2 separate regions of the Homo sapiens genome follow, and region 1 is linked to region 2. The links are contacts of gene promoters, found by promoter capture Hi-C in blood cells and fetal thymus (Javierre and others, 2016). All regions are on one chromosome and are shown on one strand. The core of a region is centred on a gene start or on the middle of the fragment in contact, and the rest is flanking DNA. Distances in the headings are between cores, read along the strand shown. Region 1 overlaps COLQ (collagen like tail subunit of asymmetric acetylcholinesterase). Region 2 holds the start of METTL6 (methyltransferase 6, tRNA N3-cytidine).

Region 1 (4,235 bases), core at 1,684-4,183, 92 kb after region 2:
ATCTCACTCTACAGGACTGGATTTGGGTGTTCTCACCATCTGGTTTCTGAGACCCGGACCCAAACATCACCTGAAGAGTCCTGCCTTCCTGGAAAATCCTGTATTCAATGAGGGAAACCACATGTGTCTGCAGGGTCATCGATGGGGATGGGTCGGCTCACAATGCCTAAAGGGAAGGCTTGTGAAGTGGATTCCCCTGGCTCCCCACCCCCAAACACCCTGGTTGACACCATTTCACTAGAGTATTGTTTAGCTTAGATCCTTAACCTCCATTAAAATGCAAGAACCATCAAAGCAGAGATAAATCAGTACCCTGGCAAGTCATGCACACTTTAATATAAAGCAATATTCAATCTTTTGCTAGAGCTTTGGGCATTGATATACTGAGGAAAAAGCAGGAGGGAATGGAAAATAAAGAATCCAGGCCAGGCGTGGTGGCTGTAATCCCAGCACTTTGGGAGGTCAAGGCCAGCGGATCACTTGAGGTCAGGAGTTCGAGACCAGCCTGGCCAACATGGCAAAACCCCATCTCTACTAAAAATACAAAAATTTGTCAGGCTTGGTGGCACGTGCCTGTACTCCTAGCTACTCAAGAGGCAGAGGTATGACAATCGCTTGAACCTGGAAGGCGGAGGGTTGCAGTGAGCCGAGATCGCACCACTGCACTCCAGCCTGGGCAACAGAGCGAGACCCTGTCTCGAAAAAACAAACAAAAAAGAATCCAGAGGAGAGTTTCCAGAGGATAGGAGGGTAGCCTACAGGACTTTAAAGGCCAATATCACTATTTATCCAAAACCATAAGGAGATTTGGTATATACTGGTGAAAGCCCTGGACTTAAAGAAGCAGGATTTCAGTCTCCAGCTCTCCCACATAACAGCTGCATGACCTTGGGCAAGTCACTTAACCTTTCTGAGCTGCCATTTCCTCATCTGAAAGGGGAAGTGGTGCTGCCCCCATTCAGGAGTGCTGCGAGAATTACACAAATTAAACTGTGTGGAAGGCCTGCCCTCCGGTAAATATCATTGTCTTTGTGTCTGTGCCTCCACATTCTGGAAATTGTACTACTACTGAGCTACCACTGTGGGTGGATACTGGAGCCAAGTCAATCCACAGACCCATAAGTGAGTCCAGCCAGGGCCAGCCAAACCCAAGCTAGATTAGCTGACCCTCAGTTTACCCACAAACACATGAACTTCAACAATAAATGGTTGTTGTTTTGATCTACCAAGTGTCACGGTGGTTTATTACCCACCAATGGTTAACGCAATACACCAAACGTGGGAATCTTGGCATTTTTAATAATTGCCATGTTCAATAGAAATCATTCTAATATATAAATGGCATTTATCTACCTTCTTAAGCAAGATAAAGTAGGCACAATCCAGTCATCACTGGTCCATTCATGTTCATCATAATGAAAACCAGTTAATGTACTGTAGTCAATGACGCCTTCAGGGGTTACAGACAGAGCAGAGGCTCTAGAGGTAGCTCTAGTCTACTATGTTTTGTTTGTTTTTTTAAACGAAGTTTCACTCTTGTTACCCAGGTTGGAGTGCAATGGCGCGATCTCAGCTCACTGCTACCTCCGCCTCCCAGGTTCAAGCAATTCTCCCGCCTCAGCCTCCTGAGTAGCTGGGATTACAGGCATGCACCACCACATCCAGATAAATTTGTATTTTTAGTAGAGACAGGGTTTTCTCCATGTTGGTCAGGCTGGTCTCGAACTCCTGACCTCAGGTGATCCACCCACCTCAGCCTCCCAAAGTGCTGGGATTACAGGCGTGAGCCACCGCGCCTGGCCTACTATTCTTTTTGAAATCTCAGGCCCATTTCCTAATTCTTTATTGTTTTTCTTGTAATCATTCTTATCATCCGTCATTGTGTCTAGCTTAAGCAGCAACTCCTCCCTCCCCAATTTAATATGCTATATATAATCACCAGCTTTCAAGTCACGGACTATCTATGTCTATTAGAGTGGTGCCCAAAGTAAGAGTTAATAGGCTTAGAATAAAGGCCTGAAATAGTTTTGTGTGTATCAAATATTATGTGCTTTAGCGATGGCATTTCTATCATCAGTTCTGGCCTCTGATGTTTTTTGCTCCTTCCTGGTTCTCCTCTGGGACCCAGCAGAGGAGGTTGCCAGGTAATGAACCTCTGATCCAGATAGCTGGTGCTGCACATGGCACTGCTGGAATAGTCTTTCTTGAAGACAGTGAAGGAGTGGATTATCTATGAAGGTAAGTACTGGCTTACAGGCCCATGAGAGCTCTTCCTCCATCACAACCCCTTTCCGGGGCATTTACCACACGCCACCTGTGTTTCAAAAGCAGGTGATCATGGAATCCCTCAGAGCAGAGGCCACATCCTACTTGTCTCCGTGTCCCTTGAAGCACACATTAGAGTGCCAGGCACACAGTAGGCACTCACTAAGTTATAATGCATAGAATGAAAAGATTTTCCTGGTTGCCCTTATTTTCTGTGTATACACAGCCTATCTTCAGAAGAATTAAGAGTCTATAAGCTTCTGAATATAGAATATTTTATATCAAACTGTTGGAAAATATTTCCAAAGGATTACAAGGAACAGCTTCCATTTTTTTAAAGCTTAAGTTTATTTCTGAACTGTGCTATCATAAAGCCATGGTGACTAAATTAGGGGGGCAAAGCCAAGTGACCACCGGAGAAAACATATCTTTGTGATACTGAGCTGGTTACCTTAGTGATTCCCGCTAGGTCTATTCCATTGTTTTCCCTAATGTCTAATGACCACATTCCCAGCCAGAAGTGCCTGTGGATGTGCGCACTGGTTGTTCTCCATCCCAACCCTCCCCTTGGCTCTCTGCCCTCAGTGTTCCAGTCCCTGACCTCCAGGCTCTGCCCTCTGGCTTCAAGTTGGGTTGGCCAATGAGAGGCGCTGCCAAAAGGTGCTTGGATGGGAGGAGAGAGAAGATGGTGTACTTCTCCTTCACTTTCTCCCTGCTTTAGGGCCTTCCATGACCAATGCTCTTGCTTAATGGCCCCTTCTCTAAGGCTCCAAATCTGCCTGGGATCCATTTTCCTATTTGCCCCTCTTGCCTTTTCAAGCACAGGGTGGTAAAGGCATATTGCAGTTGCTAATCTCTAGGTGCCTCAGCATTCCTTGTTGGTTCCCTTAACCCCGCCCACACCTCTCAAAGTGATCCCTTCATTCAGATCTTTTCATCTGAACCACCTGAGTTGCTTCTTTATCCTGCTGTTGCCCTGATTGGTACAGTCTGCAAAAAGCTTACCTAAGAGATATCTATGTTGTGCCAGGGTGCTCTCCAAGGCAAAGAGTTCAAAAGAAAACCAGAGGTTCTTTTCTCTCTAGTTTTCTGAACTCCTTAACCACTTTGGTGCTATTTAAATTAAGTAATACAAAATGATGGTAAACCCCAGTTTGCAGATGAGAAGCTTTTATTCATTCATTCATCAAATATTTATTGATTACTATGTGCCAGGCACTGTTCTGACCCTGGGAAAACAGTAAAGTACAAGAGAGACACATGCCCTGGCCACATGGTGCTTATAGTGTAAGGCCACTGTCTCTCAGAAGTCAGGGAGCTCATCAGAGGCAGGGCTAGAACCAGAAAACTGAGTTTCCTTAAGTCCTAACCTTCAGCAGATTCTCAAAGGAATCCATGACCCAAACATGATTAAGAACCACCAAATTAGGCCAAATTAACTCTCAAGCTTCTCCCTTGAACTGGGGAATGAATAATGACTACTCACTCCTAGAAGAAGCTTGATGCTCTTAACTTGAATTTGCAGGGGCATGTGGGCACACACCCACGGTGACACCACCACTCACCTTTCCTGCCCACCCTCCTGAATTCTCCACAAATCTGCCCCCACCTCCTTCTGTTTCTCACACTTTTATAATTAGCCTCACACCAGTCTCTGAGTCACTCCCTCATGGCCCACAAACGTTGGCTACACAACTTGCTGATGAGCTGTTTTTATCAATGGACAGCAGTTGGGAGCTGGATTCAGAGATGTGCCCTCTCTGAGAGCCTGGCATTTCTGGCCCTCCCTGTGTTTCCAGCAAAGGCAGCGATAGTGAAATTTCTGTCTCAGTTGAAGTATTTATGAGACTCATGTTGGAGGCATAACTAAAACTTTGCTGGGGAGAGTCAGGGGTCACTGAGGTGAATTGAGGGGGGCTGTGAGGGTCTGCCTGCCTCCTTCAAGCCCTCCGGAAACATTTGAGTTTCCT
Region 2 (4,120 bases), core at 797-3,296:
ACTAACATTAACTATTATATTATTCTGAATCTGTCACTGAAGTCACTTAGCATGAATTTATATTTTTGTTTTTAAAATTTTTAATGTTTAAAATTTTAAAATTCAGAACATAGGGTCTCACTATGCTGCCTAGGCTTGGCTAATTCATGTTGACTATTCACAGGCACAAGCCGCCTGCCTCAGCCTCTGGAGTAGCTGGCAATAGCCACCAGACCTGGCTCTTGAATTTAATATATAATGTTTACAACTATCAGATCAGCTTAAAGAAATAGAAAACACCCACTAAAGTTCTCTCTCCTATATGTTAACCAAACCAGAAACTGCTAAAACTTTGGTGTTAAGACCAAACAGTATATTTCTCTCCTAAAACGCAAAGCATTTTGATAGGCTTCTTAAATTCTCTACTTCGCACTCTCCCTAGGAATGCAATACAGCACACCTCTTCACATTTTTTTTTCTTTTGAGACAGAGTCTCGTTCTGTCACCAGGCTGGAGTGCAGTGGCACAATCTCGGCTCACTGCTATCTCCGCCTCCCGGGTTCAAGCGATTCTCCTGCCTCAGCCTTCCAAGTAGCTGGGACTACAGGCGAGCACCACCACACCCAGCTAATTTTTGTATTTTTAGTAAAGACGGGGTTTCATCATGTTGGCCAGGATGGTCTCGATCTCTTGACTTCGTGATCCGCCTGCCTTGGCCTCCCCAAGTACTGGGATTACAGGCATGAGCCATGGCACCCTCTTCACATTTTAAATGAAGAACAGCTCAGATAAGGCGTAATATTAGCTTACCTCTCTACATGATCTTAGCTCCTCAAACTCTCTGGTGGTCCAGTGTCTGTCTTTGAAGAAATTAGTGCTATTTCTTTTGTAAAAAAGATCCCAATTTTTCTGAGCCTCTTGTTCCAATTTCTGCTGTTTAAAATCAGACACCAAAGTTTGGTCTCTTTTCAGTTTCTCCTCTTCTTCAGAGGTGAGAATCCTTGCCTGCAGCCCTTTCCTTTGCAAAGAAGCCATCTCTGAAACTGACGGTAACACTTAACACAGCTGAAGATTCTCCATCACCAAATAATATGAATCCACGCTAATGGATCAGATACATTTCCTGAGGTGAGTTTCACGCCTCAAACAGCACAGGGGGCTTCGCAGAGAAAAGAATTAGATTCTGGTTAGTGGTTACAGTTCAAGACGCCAGGTTCAATTCACCAAATGTTTATGAGATGCAGACTGTACAAAAAAAAATCCTTCCCGCTATATGAGAGGTCACAAAGAAGACAAACACACAGTCCCTACCTTCAGTGGGCTTACATTCATTTCAGTGGCCAGACTATCTCATGCACCATACTTTTATTCAAACCAGATGAGTCAACTATTACAATAAATCGATTTAGTTTACGAAAAAGGACGCTCTCAAGAACTGACTGGGAAACCTTGCGAAGAAAATATTCCTCAATTTTCGGTGCCCGCGAAAGGGGTGACTTAAAAACCACAATGGCCTTAGCTGGAAGCGGGTGGTCAATTGTCAGATACAAGTGAGGTCATCGTTTCCCAAGGGTCGGACCTCCGTTTTTTCGGGGGAAATGAAGCTAAGCCTGGGTGGGCTCATTTCCTGATCACACTCACAAGAGGCTGTCATAGGAACCAGAGGGAGCGTCACTTTGCAGGGACTGAGACCCTCGCACCGCCATCACCGGGCAAAGTGGAGAAAGAGACCCAATGACGCGTGGCTGAGGTCCCGAGGATCCATCTCAGGACCCTCAGGATAGACTAGGCTGCATGGGCCCCTAGACCCTGAGGAGGGCGTCCATGATGGCTAGCCGACCCGCGTTAATTTAGTCAGCCACGCTCAGGGCTCACCGTCATCAGTTCCTAAATTCACCTGCAGGGCTAGGGCCAGGCGCACTCACCCCACAGCCAGCCCCACTGGGCCTCGGAGGCAGAATACGGGAAGAACCGCGAAACAACCCTAAACCAATTCTGAGGACCACGAATTCGGATTATCCGGGAGTTCTTTTGCCATGGCACCGCCCCCGCCACTTCCGCTAGGAACCCGGAAGTTCCTACCCGACGCCGGAAGTCCCACGGCCTTGCCTCCTCAGATTCCTCTCTCACCCCCACGCAGAGGAGAGAACTTGCTTCTGGACCCGGGTGGGTGCCGGCTCGGCTCTCCTTGTCTTCCAGAGCGGTGGCCCGGAAGCACAGTCCTCCCAGACGCCAGCGCCAGAAGCTCGGATCGCGGCTGCACCGGGAGAGCGCCGATCTGGGTGCGAGGCAGGTGCGGGGCCATGAATGGGACCGCAAACCCGCTGCTGGACCGCGAGGAACATTGCCTGAGGCTCGGGGAGAGCTTCGAGAAGCGGCCGCGGGCCTCCTTCCACACTATTCGTTGTAAGTCAGCGCTCCCCACGGTTCCCTTCGGCCGCTCCAGCCGCCACATATCAACCTTGACTCCTTCCTTTCTTCCCTCGGCCCTTCAGATTCCAGGGAACCCCCTGCCAGCGTCAGTTACTTTCTCTCGAACCCCAAATCCTTTGGGACATCGATTTGTCCCTTCTTTTACCCAGATTATTTCTCCCAAATCTTCGTCACTCCCTACTATTCTTCTACCTCACAGTCTCAAACACTAGTTCCAAAGGTCTTTGGCCTCTTTCCATTTCCATCCCTCCCCGCCCCCAACCTCGCCCCTAAGGCAAACCTCCCTCCCCCAAGGCAAACCTCCCCCCTCTTATCCGGGTCCACTTCTCCCTCGAAACCCCTCCCCTCCTTTCCGATGCTCCCATCAGGGTTCTCCACATTTAAAAGACGCTTCTTGTTTGTTATGAGCCTCATCCACTGCCTTAGAACCCATTCTCTTCCCTGCTTTTCTCCTCCGACTTGGTCCTGGACTCCCAAATACTGTGCTTTGTCCCCTCTACAGCCAAAGAATTGGCATCCTCTCTGCGCCTCATCAGAGTCTTCTTCCATCTCCTTTCTGTGCTTCATTTGACTTGGATGTCTTTTGAGGTCACCTATACCACCCGGGCTTTTCCTCCAGACCAAGTTCCTTGTGGGTAAAGAGTCAAATCAGAGTTCGTGAGCCTGGGATAGGTTAAAGATTGGTCTACGTTTGGAAGCAGAAGAGAGCAGGCGTAAGGAATGTCCAAATAGTCATTATGCCGGACCTTTTTCTACATAATTATAGACGCTGTTGAGAGAGTGCACTTCCACCCTATGTCCTGGGTGAAGGTTTGGCAGTTAGGAATTGGCTGACAGAGCATCCCTCCGTGATTCATGAACTTCTGGTTTCCGTGGTGCTAACGCTGTTGTTAAGACTTGTTTTTGTCAGAGGACCTAATAGATGTGACTCAACACATGTGAAGAGGGCGTTTTAGATAATGAAATCCCATCTTTGTGTAGTCACTTGCCATGCCATTGCTATGCTTCCTACTGACAGCAGATCCAGCTCTTTCAGAGAGAAGAGATGGGAATAAGATAAGAACATCATTTCCTGAAGAGTTTACTAAGTTGATGTTTTCTTTTGGTGAAGGGCAATGTGGAATTTAAATCATATAGTTCATGTGTGCACCTGTCCTGCAGTTTGAGGCAGGTGTGAATGTGAATTAAGATGGCTATTATGTTGTATTCTAACTGCAGTTTAGAAACACGAGCAGGATAACTTGCGGAGATACAGTTCAGTTGTCTGCTATGAACATCTACGAAGTGTCTTTGTTAAAGCTGTGGAACTGGCTGAGAGTGGTGGCTGACACTATAATCCCAGTACTTTGGGAGGCCGAGGTCGACAGATAGCTTGAGCCCAGGAGTTTGAGACCAGCCTGGGCAGCATAGTGAGACCCCATCACTATTAAAAAAAAAAAAAAACAAAAAACAGCTATGGAACTTGAGTATGGCAAATCCTAATTTTGACAGTTTCTATGCGGAATGAAATCAGCTTTTGATGATGCTGTGGCCTTTCATATTTCATATAGAGTTTACAGTCACAGAATCTGTTTCATATGCTGTTACTTTTGATCCTCACAACCCTAAAAAAGCAACTTATTATGGATGATGAGACAATTTTCCTCTCTCCCTTGGGAGAAGGGAATATCTTTGTTTAATAAAATGGCCTGTAAATTCTTTTTTCCCT

Evidence for each region. Contacts are between HindIII fragments. The CHiCAGO score rates a contact against its expected background, and 5 or more counts as called.
Region 1: a fragment that was not itself captured here is called in contact with the fragment with the promoter of METTL6 in region 2 in 1 of 17 cell types (M0 macrophages); the score reaches 5.2 in M0 macrophages.

What each region holds. Positions count from the first base shown.
Region 1 is chr3:15,516,444-15,520,678 of GRCh38, forward strand. All of the region lies in intron 1 of COLQ (collagen like tail subunit of asymmetric acetylcholinesterase), which reads right to left. Among named protein-coding and RNA genes, the nearest start is that of COLQ, 3.1 kb to the right of the region's middle. The HindIII fragment of the contact is 660 bases long and covers 2,604-3,263 here.
Region 2 is chr3:15,425,498-15,429,617 of GRCh38, forward strand. METTL6 (methyltransferase 6, tRNA N3-cytidine) reads right to left here and starts at 2,047. Exons shown (of 6, transcript NM_152396.4): 1 at 1,905-2,047; 2 at 790-1,138. The coding sequence starts at 1,014. EAF1 (ELL associated factor 1) reads left to right here and starts at 2,101. Exons shown (of 6, transcript NM_033083.7): 1 at 2,101-2,385. The coding sequence starts at 2,283. RefSeq lists a silencer at 2,018-2,181 and an enhancer at 2,178-2,457. The HindIII fragment of the contact is 9,714 bases long and covers 1-4,120 here.